2 separate regions of the Homo sapiens genome follow, and region 2 is linked to region 1. Evidence: promoter capture Hi-C in 16 types of primary human blood cells and fetal thymus (Javierre and others, 2016). All regions are on one chromosome and are shown on one strand. The core of a region is centred on a gene start or on the middle of the fragment in contact, and the rest is flanking DNA. Distances in the headings are between cores, read along the strand shown.

Evidence for each region. Contacts are between HindIII fragments. The CHiCAGO score rates a contact against its expected background, and 5 or more counts as called.
Region 2: a fragment that was not itself captured here is called in contact with the fragment with the promoter of MRPL3 in region 1 in 1 of 17 cell types (neutrophils); the score reaches 7.3 in neutrophils.

Annotation. Positions count from the first base shown.
Region 1 is chr3:131,501,721-131,508,617 of GRCh38, forward strand. MRPL3 (mitochondrial ribosomal protein L3) reads right to left here and starts at 1,251. Exons shown (of 10, transcript NM_007208.4): 1 at 1,010-1,251. The coding sequence starts at 1,101. LOC105374114 (a long non-coding RNA gene) reads left to right here and starts at 879. Exons shown (of 3, transcript NR_189111.1): 1 at 879-984. RefSeq lists enhancers at 887-1,573, 1,080-1,149. The HindIII fragment of the contact is 1,488 bases long and covers 551-2,038 here.
Region 2 is chr3:131,267,991-131,274,887 of GRCh38, forward strand. NEK11 (NIMA related kinase 11) reads left to right here. Exons shown (of 18, transcript NM_024800.5): 17 at 5,488-5,584. Among named protein-coding and RNA genes, the nearest start is that of NUDT16-DT, 110 kb to the right of the region's middle. The HindIII fragment of the contact is 2,027 bases long and covers 3,058-5,084 here.

The DNA.
Region 1 (6,897 bases), core at 1-2,500:
AAAAGAAAAAATAAATAAAACCAAACCACAATTTAAAAACTTCCTCCACTTAATATAGAAAAGGGAAGTCACAAATTGGAAAGTGTAGTCAGGGCCTTGGGAAAGGGCTTGGATTCTGTATACCTTTTTTTCAGGTCTCCAACCTTTTCCTCACTCCCCACATTCCTTCGGATAAGGCTCACATTTAAACTGTTAGTCGTTACCCTGGAGAAAAAAATTCATCTTCTCCTCGCAGATAAACATATTCCCCAAAAAACAGTCCTACCTATAGACATGAAAAGCCACTAACCCATTTGGAAGTGTACCTTAATAGTTTTACATTCAGTGGAGGTGGCAGAAGGTGGCATGTTGATCTTTGTCTAACAAGCTCACCTCCTCCCTGCAATGACATGGCCTAGGTTCAGAGAAGTGAAGAAACTGGGTGTGCAAAGTTAAAAGATCCACAAAAGGCATGACCTCTGAACAGGTGAACATACCAAGAAAGACCTTAGTGGGCGGAGGTCAGGAAGAAGGGGTGTAATTCTTGCATGGAGGGTCAGAACAGAAGTAAAGCTTTCTGCAGTCTACTCTCCTTTTGTAGTCAGATAAATTCAGGCTAGATTCCTAATTTTCCACTTATTAGTTGAGTGACTTTGGGCAAATTAACTCACCTCCCTAACCTTCAGTTTTATCTGTAAACCTTATGATAGCAGTTTGCTCCCGTGAGGCTACATAAGGCACCTAATACACTTAGCAGAGCGCTTAGTACCTGGCAAACGCTCACTAATTGTAAGATATGATTGCTGTTAATAGCGTTCGCTGCTAGTGGCTGGCTCATAAGCGTTTTTTAAAAATCACCACTTCAATCCCCTTAGAACGTGCTTCCTTAGGTTAACGGCCCTTATTCTTCTGTGTCCCACGTCTCAACAGAGCCCCTTCCTCCTCCACCCAGGGGAGGCCCAACTGCACCAGGCCATTCCACTGCTTCAGGACGCAACTGTGCAGGTAGGACACCCTCACACCTTCCTACCTGTTCCCCGGGCCCAGGGCAGCACCCAGGCCGTCCCCGAGTCGACCCAGCACCTGGGCGCCGACCTGCGTCAGCAGCCTCCAACCCGGCATGGATTAGCCCGGGAAGACTCGACTCACGACTTCCGGGCGCCCTGCCGCTCTGCTTTCAGGGAGTCCCCACGCCACCGCCACGTGGACGCAGTAGCCGTGGGGAAGTTTTCGCAATGGCCGCCGGAACGGTCGCCGGCCGATGCTCTCTGCGACGGAAAGAAAGCCGCCGGACCCACTTCCGGTGCGTTTTACAATGAACTCCGGGCACTCGAGTCGCTCCCCGGAAACTATAGTTCTGCTTCCACCGTTGTCCTACTTTGGATGTGAGTTGGAGTAGGTAGGGGTGGGAAGGGACTGACTCGCCTCTCCAGGGGTAAAATAAAAGGGATGTTCAGAGTTTAAACTTTAGAAGAATAAGGACAGACTTCCTGAGGACGCTAAGGAAAATGAAGACACTTCTAAATAGTGCCCGTTGTGAGGCAATGCATTATGCTAAGCAGCGCTTCATAATCCTATATTTGTTAATCATAAAAAACGGTCCTGAAAGGAAGTATTTATTTTTCTATTATAAATGAGGAAACTGACTCAGAATTTAGGTGCTGGTCCAAAACAACACATCTGGCAGAGGAGCAGAGTTGGCACTGAAACAGGGTTGGCATGTGTTATCAATAGACTACACCCATAGAAATGATGTATGCCTTCTAGGGCTGGATCATAAAACATATTGTTACTTCAGTTTTTGTCTCTTGGATTGCTCCCTGTGGAGAAAGCTAGCCTTCATTTCCTGCAGACACTCAAACAGCTCTGCAGGGAGGAACATATAAAGAGGAATCAACTAGCCAGTCATGACTGAGCCACCTAGGAAGTGGATCCACCAGTCCTCGGCTGCAACTCATGGAGACGTTAAGCCTGAATCTCCCAGCCAGGCCGCTCATGAATTACTGACTAGGAGAAATTGCCAGAGAAAATAAATGATTACCGTTTTTTTGAGTCATTAAGCTTTAGGGTAATTTGTTATGCAATAATAGATAGCTAATACACCTGCACAAAAAATCCCCTGTCTTGGGTTCCAGATCTAGCCTAATAACCATGTATGTGACTAGGACATTTATTCTTCTACTAATTCCCTTATTTGTCAGATTACTGTTTGTAGAAATTTGGAAATAAGAACTTTAAAGTGTAGCTATTTCAACCTTCTCTTTTTACTAGAGATCTGGCTATCTTGGTTTAACAGGTCCAGACAATGGTCAATTCCTGGCCATTACTTGGACTTTAGTGGGCTAAAAAATCTTTGCTTTGCTTGTCCATTCATTCCACTCATTGCTGTTGCAGTTACCTTAGACACTTTTCAATAATACTTTGGACCTTGAAGGAAAAACTACATCTCTTCATTCTAGCCATGCTGCCTGGCTTCCCAGATACTTAAGGATGGCTCTTCATTGAACAAACATGTTTTGAGGTGTGCTACATGCAAGAAGTTGAGAATAAGAAGATTTCTGTACTACTGCCAATAACTAACATTTCTTATCCATATAGTGTGCTAGAGTATGTGCTCAGCATTGTGGAAGCCCATAAGCCAAGGCTACTAGAAGAAAACGTGAACTCATACAAAGTCAAGTTTAATTAGCTTGATGCAGCAAAAGACAGCATATGTCTGAGGATGTTTCCAAAAGAGTGACCTGGGAGGGGCTTGAAATGAAATTTGGACTTAAGGCTGAGTGATTTTAAAGTGGCATCAGAGAAGCAGGAACTTGTTTTAGAATGGGTGCTGTCAAGAAGAAAGGACAGTTCAGCAATTGGATATCTTGATAGTCTTTGTTCTAGAGACAGGAAGAACAGAGAGGAAGTGGGCATGATGTTCATAAGAAAGCAGGAATCACTCAGAATAAGGAACTGTTAGTCATTTTGCTGCAGTGGTGTGGCCTACAGTACGGTCTGTAAGAAATATTGTAATGATGGGCTGGGCGTGGTGGCTCAGCACTTTGGGATGCCAAGGCGGGTGGATCACGAGGTCAGGAGATTGAGACCATCCTGGCTGACATGGTGAAACCCCTTCTCTACTAAAAATACAAAAAAAAATTAGCCGGGCGTAGTGGCGGGTGCCTGTAGTCCCAGCTACTCAGGAGGCTGAGGCAGGAGAATGGTGTGAACCTGGGAGGCGCAGCTTGCAGTGAGCGAGATTGAGCCACTGCACTCCAGCCTGGGTGACAGAGCAAGACTCCGTCTCAAAAAAAAAAAAAAGAAATATTGTATTGATGTTCTGCTATAAACACTGCAGTCCAGTTACTAATAGTATTCATTTTTACTCTCTCAGTGTATTTTCTCACTTGATTGTTATGACAATCTGCTGTGACAATAGTATAATTATCTGGATCTTACAGTTAAGAAAATAGGCATACAGAGATTACATAACTTAAATAAAATCACCCAGCTATTAACTGGTAGAGCCAAAGACTGTGACCATAGATAGAGCTTATGCTTTTAGACATTTTGTTTCTTTGGCTCTCTATGACAAATATGTCACTACTCTTGCCTTGGAATTTCTTTAAGGCTAAAGAGGAAAATCGGTAAGTAATCACACGCAGTGGTCAGTGAGGATTGAAGAGGTAGCCATTTGGTCTAACCTTTTCCCATAGTACCAAATATCTCCTAGTCCATAAGGAGGACCTTGACAGCAGGCACCACCGCTGAACTGAATCAAAGTAAAACATGGTTTGTCTGCTGTCGTAAAAAATGTGTCTCCTGATTGCCAGCCAGGGCTGAGTGGTGTCATACTTGATTTAGTCACTGTAATATGCTGCTGACAGCTACTAGGCCCAGTTGTCAAGGGACCCAGCCTAGGCTTTTCTAGGGCAGTCAGGCACTGACCTAGAGCTTCCTGTTATTTCTGATGTCATCCTTCAGACACTGCCTTAGACCCTGAAACTGTAATGCCATTTTGCCTCTCTAAGATTTCAATTCCTTATTGGAACGAAGATAACTTGCACTTTCTCTTTTTAGTGGTACAGTTCTATAACTCTTACTCCGCTAATTCAGACCAACAGATGATCTCATAAACCTTCTCTTATTAAATAAAACATTAGGAATAGATTCATTTTTGAATTACTAAAGCCATGTTCAATACAAGAGAATCATCATAGAAGGAGCAGATTTCAAAGCAAGAGTTCACTGGAAATAATCTTTTATATGTGTTCCTGCCATTAGGCTCTACCATTAGCTCTTATAATGTTTGTGATATATCCTGTATAGTTGGATTATTGCAAGATGGTAAATTTTGTGTTGGGTAATTTCCACTTTAGTATTCATTTATGCTGTCTCTTAGTTTATAACATACCTTATATTTGAAATTAGAAATCTTTTAAACAATGAGTTTGGATTTACTAAGTTATCCTTTTTTTTCTCCATTTTTCTCAAGTTGTGAGAATCTAGCATATTTTAAAATCAGTAAAGATGTTATGAAAGTGAGTCAAGCATTCAATGGGGATATAGATAAAATAAACTTTAAGAGATTTTTGAACTTTAAGATTTCATTGCTGGCTGAAATAGAAAATTTGAAAGGCTGTATTGCAAAATCCACAGATACTCATTCAGTAAGAGAATGAATTCTGCTTCAATGTCCTTCAGTAAGGCCAAATCACAATTTGTAACTTTAATATATTGCTTTTAAAACATAATTTTTATTTGTAAATTCCCAAGTAAGCCCACAGACTTTAGGGTTCCAAGAGATGATCAGAATTAAAATTCATTTGGCTTGAAGAAAGCCTTAAAAAAATAGAAAAAAGCAGTATGGCCATGTAGTAATCTGGGTTTAAGGTTTCAAAACTTAATGTAATTATACCAATGTCCATTTTTTAAAGTTCTTTGATTACTTAGAAAAAATATTAGCAACAGACAATGTAGCATCACATGCCAGGGAACCAATGCTTTTCAAAAGGACATCTCTTCCTCCCTGGTCTTCCTCCCAATGCCAGTGTAGTTTTGATGGCCAGAGTATAGCTCCAAACCAGTGGATACTCTAGCCACCTAGAATCATAATCAGGATTACCCCTCTGAGCCTTACAGATACAGAATCTGGAGAAATTCTAAAGACTGAGTTCATTTAGGATTTTGATTCCACTTAGAGGAGGCCTAGGGATTCCCTGAAAAATGATAAATAACTAACATTTGCATTGCTTTTGCTAAGTGGCAGACACTGATCTATGTGCTTTCCATATATTAACTTATTTAATCCTCACCTGTGAAGTGGGTACTGTTAGTCTCAACCCCATTTTACAAATATGGAAACTGAGGCACAGAGACGATGAGCAGGTCATTCAAGTGCACAAACTTTACATTTGTTAAGTAAGTGGTGGAGACAGGAGTTGAGGCCAGGCAGGCTGTCTAGAGTCCAAGTGCTTAACTGATCTGCTGTACTGCCTCTGTCCTTAGAAGAGAAAGCTGCATAGCACATTATTGGAACACTCAGCTCAGCATCCAGAGGATGCCCCAGACCAACAAAGATTGATGATGATAGTGCTAAGCCTGCATCTTTAGGCGTCTCATCAGTCTAGATCAGAATCCGTCGGTCTCAAGAGAGAATGATGAGGCCGAACTGCTTGAGATATTCACCCATTCAATTCCTATGCAACCTCATTGGAGGCTTTTCAGAGCCCACGTGATGTTGAAAGCCTGTGATTCTCAACCCTGAATGTGTACAAGATTTACCTGGGAATCTTGCTAAAATGCGGAACCTGATTCATTAGGTCTAGGGTGGGATCTGAGAGTCTGCATTTCTAAGAAGCTCAAGATGATGTCAGTGCTGACCACATTTTGGGTAGCAGCATTCTAAAAATGGCTGTGAACTCAGAGCCAAGAGACTTGGGATTCAATCTCAGGTCTAAACTTAACTAGCAGTGCGACACAGAGTAAATCACTTCACCTCTCTGCCTGTTCATCTGTCCAGCTGAGGTCCCTTCTAGTCTTCTAAGTGAAAGTCCTTCTGGAAGGTAGAAAACAGTAGTTATATTATTCTTTCTTTTTTTTTTTTCTTTTTTGTAAAGATGGAGTCTCGCTCTGTCACCAGGCTGGAGTGCAGAGTCTCACTCTGTCACCAGGCTGGAGTGCAGTGGCGTGATCAAGGCTCACTGCAACCTCTGCCTCCTGGGTTCAAGCAATTGTCCGCCTCAGCATACCAAGTAGCTGAGTTTACAGGGGCCCGCCACCATGCCCGGCTAATTTTTGTATTTTTTTTTTTTTTAAGTAGAGACAGGTTTCACCATGTTGGCCAAGATGTTCTTGATCTCTTGACCTCGTGATCCACCTGCCTCAGCCTCCTAAAGTGCTGGGATTACAGGTGTGAGCCACTGCGCCCAGCCACAATAGTCACATTATTCTAAATGTTTACGTCCTAATTCTTGAAATCTGTAAATGTCCTTTATTACGTGACAAAAGGGACTTTGCAGATGTAATTAGAGTTTTGAACCTTGAGATGTGGAGATTATACTAGATTATCTGGGTGGGCCCAATGTAATTACATGAATCCTTAAAATCTGAGAACATTTCTGGCTGTGGTGAGAAATGTAACAATGGAGGAAGGGTAAGATAAATGCAATGTAAAAAGAATCAACCTAACAGTGTTTACCTGGAAGATGGAAGAAGGGGTCCACAAGCCAAGGAATGCAGTGACCTCTAGAAGCTAGAAAAGGCAAGGAACTATATTCTCCTGTAGGAGCTCCAGAATAGAATGCAACCCTGCAGCCACCTTCATAGTAGCCCAGTGAGACTTGTGTCAAACTTTTGACCCCTAGAATTGTCAAATAACAAATTTGTGTTGTTTAAGCCATTTAGCTTTGGGTACTTTGTTATAGCAGAAATGGA
Region 2 (6,897 bases), core at 2,821-5,320, 230 kb before region 1:
AATCTTGTCTTCATGCTTTATTTCATTAAGTTCATAGTCTCTGATATCCTTTCTTCCACTTGATCAGTTCAGCTATTGATACTTGTGTATGTTTCACAAAGTTCTCGTGCTGTGTTTTTCAACTCCATCAGGTCATTTATGTTCTTCTCTAAACTGGTTATTCTAGTTAGCAATTCGTCTAACCTTTTATCAACATTCTTAGCTTCCTTGCATTGGGTTAGAACATGCTTTTTTAGCTCAGAGGAGTTTGTTATTACCCACCTTCTGAAGCCTACTTCTGTCAATTTGTCAAGCTCATTCTCCCTCCAATTTTGTTCCCTTGCTGGTGAGGAGTTGTGATCCTTTGGAGGGGAAGAGGCATTCTGATTTTTGAAATTTTCAGTCTTTTTGTGCTGGTTTTTCCTCATCTTCATGGATTTATCTACCTTTGGTCTTTGATGGTGACCTTCAGATGGGGTTTCTGAGTGGATGTCCTTTTTGTTGATGTTGATGCTATTCCTTTCTGTTTGTTAGTTTTCCTTCTAACAGCCAGACCCCTCTGCTGCAGGTCTGCTGGAGTTTGCTGGAGGTCCACTCCAGACCCTGTTTGCCTGAGTACCACCAGTGGAGGCTGCAGAACAGCAGCAATTGCTGCCTGTTCCTTCCTCTGGAAGCTTCATCCCAGAAGGGCACCCACCAGATGCCAGCCCAAACTCTCCTGTATTTGTCTGTCAACCCCTGCTGGGAGGTGTCTCCCAGTCAGGAGGCATGGGGGTCAGGGACCCACTTAAGGAGGCAGTCTGTCCCTTAGCAGAGCTCGAACACTGTGTTAGGAGATCCACTGCTCTCTTCAGAGCCAGCAGGCAGGGACGTTTAAGTCTGCTGAAGCTGTGCCACAGCCTCCCCTTCCCCCATTGGCTCTGTCCCAGGGAGATTGGGGTTTTATCTTTAATCCCCTGACTGGGGCTGCTGCCTTTTTTTCGGTGATGCCCTGCCCAGAGAGGAGGAATCTAGAGAGACAGTCTGACTACAGAGGCTTTGCCAAGCTGCGGTGGGCTCTGCCCAGTTCAAACTTCCCAGCAGCTTTGTTTACACTATGAGGGGAAAACCACCTACTCAAGCCTCAGTAATGGCAGATGCCCCTCCCCCCACCAAGCTTGAGCATCCCAGGTTGACTTCAGACTGCTGTGCTGGCAGTGCAAATTTCAAGCTGGTGGATCTTAGCTTTCTGGGCTCTGTGGGGGTGGGATCCGCTGAGCTAGACCACTTGGCTCCCTGGCTTCAGCCCCCTTTCCAGGGAAGTGAACGATTTTGTCTCGCTGGCATTCCAGGTGCCACTGGAGTATGAAAAACAACTCCTGCAGCTAGCTCAGTGTCTGCTCAAATGGCCACCCAGTTTTGTGCTTGAAACCCAGGGCCCTGGTGGCATAGGCACCCGAGGGAATCTCCTGGTCTGTGGGTTGCAAAGACCATGGGAAAAGCATAGTATCTGGGCCAGAGTGCACCATTCCTCATGGCACAGTCCCTCATGGCTTCCCTTGGCTAGGCGACGCCCCACCCTGCTTCAGCTCACCCTCTGTGGGCTGCACCCATTGTCTAACCAGTCCCAATGAGATGAGCTTGGTACCTCAGTTGGAAATGGAGAAATCACCCGCCTTCTGTGTTGATCTCACTGGCAGCTGCTGACTGGAGCTGTTCCTATTCGGCCATCTTGCCCATTCCATCCAAAAGTAGTTTTTGAAAATTAACATGGGGATTAAGGATTCAGCTATTTTTCAGAAAGCAGAGCTTTAAGAAAGCAGAGCTCTAGAACCAGGGCTTCATGGACGTGAGACCAGTGCAGTTACACAGAGCCCTAGGTTCAGGAAGGAGCCCACACATGGGGTTTCATAAAATTTTATCTTTGAATTTGTGTTTTATGAGTGAAAGCTGATAACACAGTGGAACACAGGCTCAAGGCTTAAAGCCTTGCTCATGTGCTGTCTTGCCTTTAAGACATCTACCTGGGAAGGTTCCTCTGCCACCTAGCCCTTAATCCCCATCCCATAACTACTGCAATCTTCCATTCCCAATGGGATCCTAGGTAATAGTGAGGAAGGGTTGCCGTGAGGTAAGACTGCCAGGTCCCTATAAGTGTCTACACTCCCCTGCAGAGTATCTGCCCTAGTTCCTGAGGGAGAATGACATTAAATACCCAACAAAAAGCACAATGACAGGTCCACAGACAAATACAGACCCCCCAAAAAACAGCTTTTCTCTTGTTTCTTGAACAAGGATTTCTGCGTTGTCATTTAGCACTGGGCCCCACAAATTATGTAGCTGGCCTGTCTAGAGCCTTACTACTCAAAGTGTGGTTGCAGGACCAGCAGCATTGGTATCACCTGGGAACATATGGAAACGTAGAATCCCAAGCCCTACCCAAACCTACTAAAGAAGAATCTGCATTTTAACAAGATCCCTGGATGATTTGTATGACATTAAAGTTTGAGAAGCAGTGGTCTAAAACACACTCTGGGATTCAGTCACCTATTGGATGACATCTATGTTCTTGCCCCAATTATTTTTATTATGATTGTTAAATGAATTGTCCTTTTCTTTGACATAAAGCAACTACTATTCATGTTGGAAGATGGGAGGCAGAGGGAAAGAAAGTTGGCCAATAAGAAACACTGAAAAAGGAATTGCTCTGAGCACCAAGCTTTGCCAACCCTGTTACTCGAAATTATACTTGCCCTGTTTTCTACCCTTGGGCTTAAGGCTTAGCATCTTTCCTAGCAGACTGAGTGCCTTATTGAGGGAAACTGTAGCCAGCTTAAAATAAACTGCAGCTCTCCTGGAAATTGCTTTGACCTTTATTTGCATAAGTCTTCAAAACTTGCCAGCTCTGGAAAAGATGGGAAAGGAGCACCTTATTTTTATTCTTGGCGGAACTGATTTTTGAGCTTGCATGTGAGTTACTTAGCATGGTATGGTTGGTGTTGTTTTAGTAACTTTTTAGGTTCTAGGAAAGATTATTGTAAAAAGCAACCAACAGGAATATGAAATAAACCCCTATGCCTTCCTCTTGCCCACTCCCCAAGCTTCCTGGGGAAAAGTATCTGTCCTGGCCAGAGTTAGTGGGAAGGTTGGAGCTGACAGAAAGCTGCTGTCCAGTTGCAGTGAGGGCCGAGGCAAATTTTCTCTCCAGGTGTGGAAGGGGCAATCTCCAGGAGTGAGAGAAATGGGAGCAATCAGTTGCTGGTACTTGTGTCTTTATCATGAAGGCATAACTGGTGAATGTACTATGAGCAACACATTGTTAATTTGTATTATGCCCTTTACAAGGTTTGTCCCTGTTAATCCAGTATTTCCATAACTAGGGATCTAGTCCAAGGAAAGATCAGAGACTTTGGCACAGAATTAAGCTGGAGAATATTCATCTCAATTATATCTATAGGAGCAAGAAGTTCAAAGTGGGATACATGCCCCAACAGGTAGTGCAAAAGGAGGATGTATGTGAGACATATTAGAATTTGCATTTAACTTTTAAAATTTAAAAAATAGAGCCAGTCGGGGTGGCTCACGCCTGTAATCCCAGCACTTTGGCAGGCCGAGGCAGGCGGATCACCTCAGGTCAGGAGTTCGAGACTAGCCTGACCAACATGGCAAAACCCTGTATCTACTAAAAAGAAAAAAATTAGCTGGGCTTGGTGGCGGGAGCCTGTAATCCCAGCTACTTGGGAGGCTGAGGCAGGAGAATTGCTTGAACCCAGGAGGTGGAGGATGCAGTGAGCCGAGATCTCACTATTGCACTCCAGCCTGGGCAACAAGAGCAAAACTCCATCTCAAAAAAATAAAAAGGTCGGGTGTGGTGGCTCACGCCTGTAATTCCAGCAGTTTGGGAGGCCGAGGTGGGCGGATCACCTGAGCTCGGGAGTTTAAGACCAGCCTGACCAACAGGAGACCAACAGGAGATAACCTGTCTCTACTAAAAATACAAAATTAGCCAGGCATGGTGGCGCACGCCTGTAATCCCAGCTACTCAGGAGACTGAGGCAGAAGAATCACTTGAACCCGGGAGGCAGAGGTTGCGGTGAGCCGAGATCACGCCATTGCATTCCAGCCTGGGCAACAAGAGCGAAACTCCGTCTCAAAAAAAAGAAGAAGAAAAAGTTTTACTAATATGTAAAATGGGGACTCCACCTTGCTTCTTTACTTGGTCCCTAAGTCAAGCAGGCACATGTTATATGAGATATGTTGAGAAAAGAATGGGAATTTCATAACATGAGTCTCTTCTCTCTGACATAGCAACTACATGGATATAATTTATAAATGATCATTGGAGTGGACAGTTTTTTACTGATGGGATGTGAAGCACCTTATAAGAGATCTAAGGACGTGCACAGGGAGTACTCTGCTCCCAGTTCCAGGGAGGAAAGAGCAGCATAGGGCCAAATTGTAAATTCAGCTCTATGGATTGCCCTGAGCTCTTGCTAATGGGCCAGTTTTAGCTTCTTTTTTTTTTTTTTTTTTTTTTTTTTTTTTGAGACAGAGCCTTGTTCTTTCACCCAGGCTGGAGTGCCGTGGTGCGATCTGAGCTCATTGCAACCTCCGCCTCCCAAGTTCAAGTGATTCTCCTGTCTCAGCCTCCAGAGTAGCTGGGATTACAGGCAAGTGCCACCACACCCAGCTAATTTTTATATTTTTAGTAGAGACGAGGTTTCACCATGTTGGCCAGGCTGGTCCCAAACTCGTGACCTCAGGTGATCCGCCCACCTCAGCCTTCCAAAATGCCGGGATTACAGGCATGAGCCACTGCACCCAACCCAGTTTTAGCTTTTTAATGGAAAGTAGTGTTGTTTCAGTTGATGGAATATTTCTTTCCCTCAGTTTCAACATGTTTTATAAGAGCCTTCAGGATGTTTCATTAAAAACTGTAGCTCTCTCAGCAGATTTCATTACACCTCAACTTTCATTACCAACTCTTACCCTCTGAACACAACTTTGGCCTTCTGCTCCATTCTGCTGAAGTTTAAAGCTGCAGATAGGACCTCTGGTCAGCATTTTGCTTTCCATTGCAAAAAAAGCTAATGCTCAGGTATAAGATTAAGATAAAAGGAAAACTAAGCTTATTAGAAAAATTCCTAGTCACTTAGTCAAACATCCACACCTGCTGAAAGAGAATGGCCAAAGGGTCCTCAGGAACACTTGCTTTTCTATAGATACATTTCCCCCTGAGTTTTCTAGGATAAAAAGCTCATCTTTTAAATAATGGTGTTTTGTTTAAACAATCCTTTGTGAGAGAGGCTTTCTCCTGGAATACCTTGTGCATATTAAAACTGTAAATAATCTTGTCATTTGGAATAAATCTTCTTAATGTGCGTGTTATAATTGAATTCATCTCTAATTAATGTAGCATTACCATGTGGCAAAGGTGGATTAGCTTCTGTTTTCTGATTGCCCTTGAACATCGCCTTGAAGTTGCAGGATTGCTGATGAAGTCAATAAGGGCTGTGCATTGATTTTCAGACACAAAGACCATCACCACCATGGCTGAAGACATGTCCCCAGGACCACCAATTTTCAACAGTGTGATGGCCAGGACCAAGATGAAACGCATGAGGGAGTAAGTAGCATGTTGCCTGCCCCCTAGGAAGGTGCAGTGTTAAAGCATATTGACCAAGTGTGTGACCCAGTCATGTGATACTGTCTTAGTCCATTTGTGCTGCCGTGACAAAATACCTGGGACTAAGCTGTTCCAACTTAGAAACTTCTCTCTAAAATTCACTTTCTGTATTGGTGCTGGTCGAATAATTAGGGAAGTTTGGCAAGAATTATTTTTCAGTTGATTTGCACTTATAGTATTCTTGCAGCACAGCACATTCTCATCCATGCTAATGTTTGAAAGCAAAGGAGAAAAAAATGCTGAAAATTATTTCCAAGCCTAAAGCTGTTACTATGTTTATATACTTATTGTTTTCTAGCCCTACCTGTACCAGAGTGGTCTTTTTTTTTTATTATTATTATACTTTAAGTTTTAGGGTACATGTGCACATTGTGCAGGTTAGTTACATATGTATACATGTGCCATGCTGGTGCGCTGCACCCACTAACTCATCGTCTAGCATTAGGTATATCTCCCAATGCTATCCCTCCCCCCTCCCCCCACCCCACAACAGTCCCCAGAGTGTGATATTCCCCTTCCTGTGTCCATGTGATCTCATTGTTCAATTCCCACCTATGAGTGAGAATATGCGGTGTTTGGTTTTTTGTTCTTGCGATAGTTTACTGAGAATGATGATTTCCAGTTTCATCCATGTCCCTACAAAGGACATGAACTCATCATTTTTTATGGCTGCATAGTATTCCATGGTGTATATGTGCCACATTTTCTTAATCCAGTCTATCATTGTTGGACATTTGGGTTGGTTCCAAGTCTTTGCTATTGTGAGTAGTGCCACAATAAACATACGTGTGCATGTGTCTTTATAGCAGCATGATTTATAGTCCTTTGGGTATATACCCAGTAGTGGGATGGCTGGGTCAAATGGTATTCCTAGTTCTAGATCCCTGAGGAATCGCTACACTGACTTCCACAATGGTTGAACTAGTTTACAGTCCCACCAACAGTGTAAAAGTGTTCCTATTTCTCCACATCCTCTCCAGCACCTGTTGTTTCCTGACTTTTTTTTTTTTTTTTTTTTTTTTTTTTTTTTGAGACGGAGTCTCGCTCTGTCGCCCAGGCCGGACTGCGGACTGCAGTGGCGCAATCTCGGCTCACTGCAAGCTCTGCTTCCCGGGTTCACGCCATTCTCCTGCCTCAGCCTCCCGAGTAGCTGGGACTACAGGCGCCTGCCACCGCGCCTGGCTAATTTTTTGTATTTTTAGTAGAGACGGGGTTTCACCTTGTTAGCCAGGATGGTCTCGATCTCCTGACCT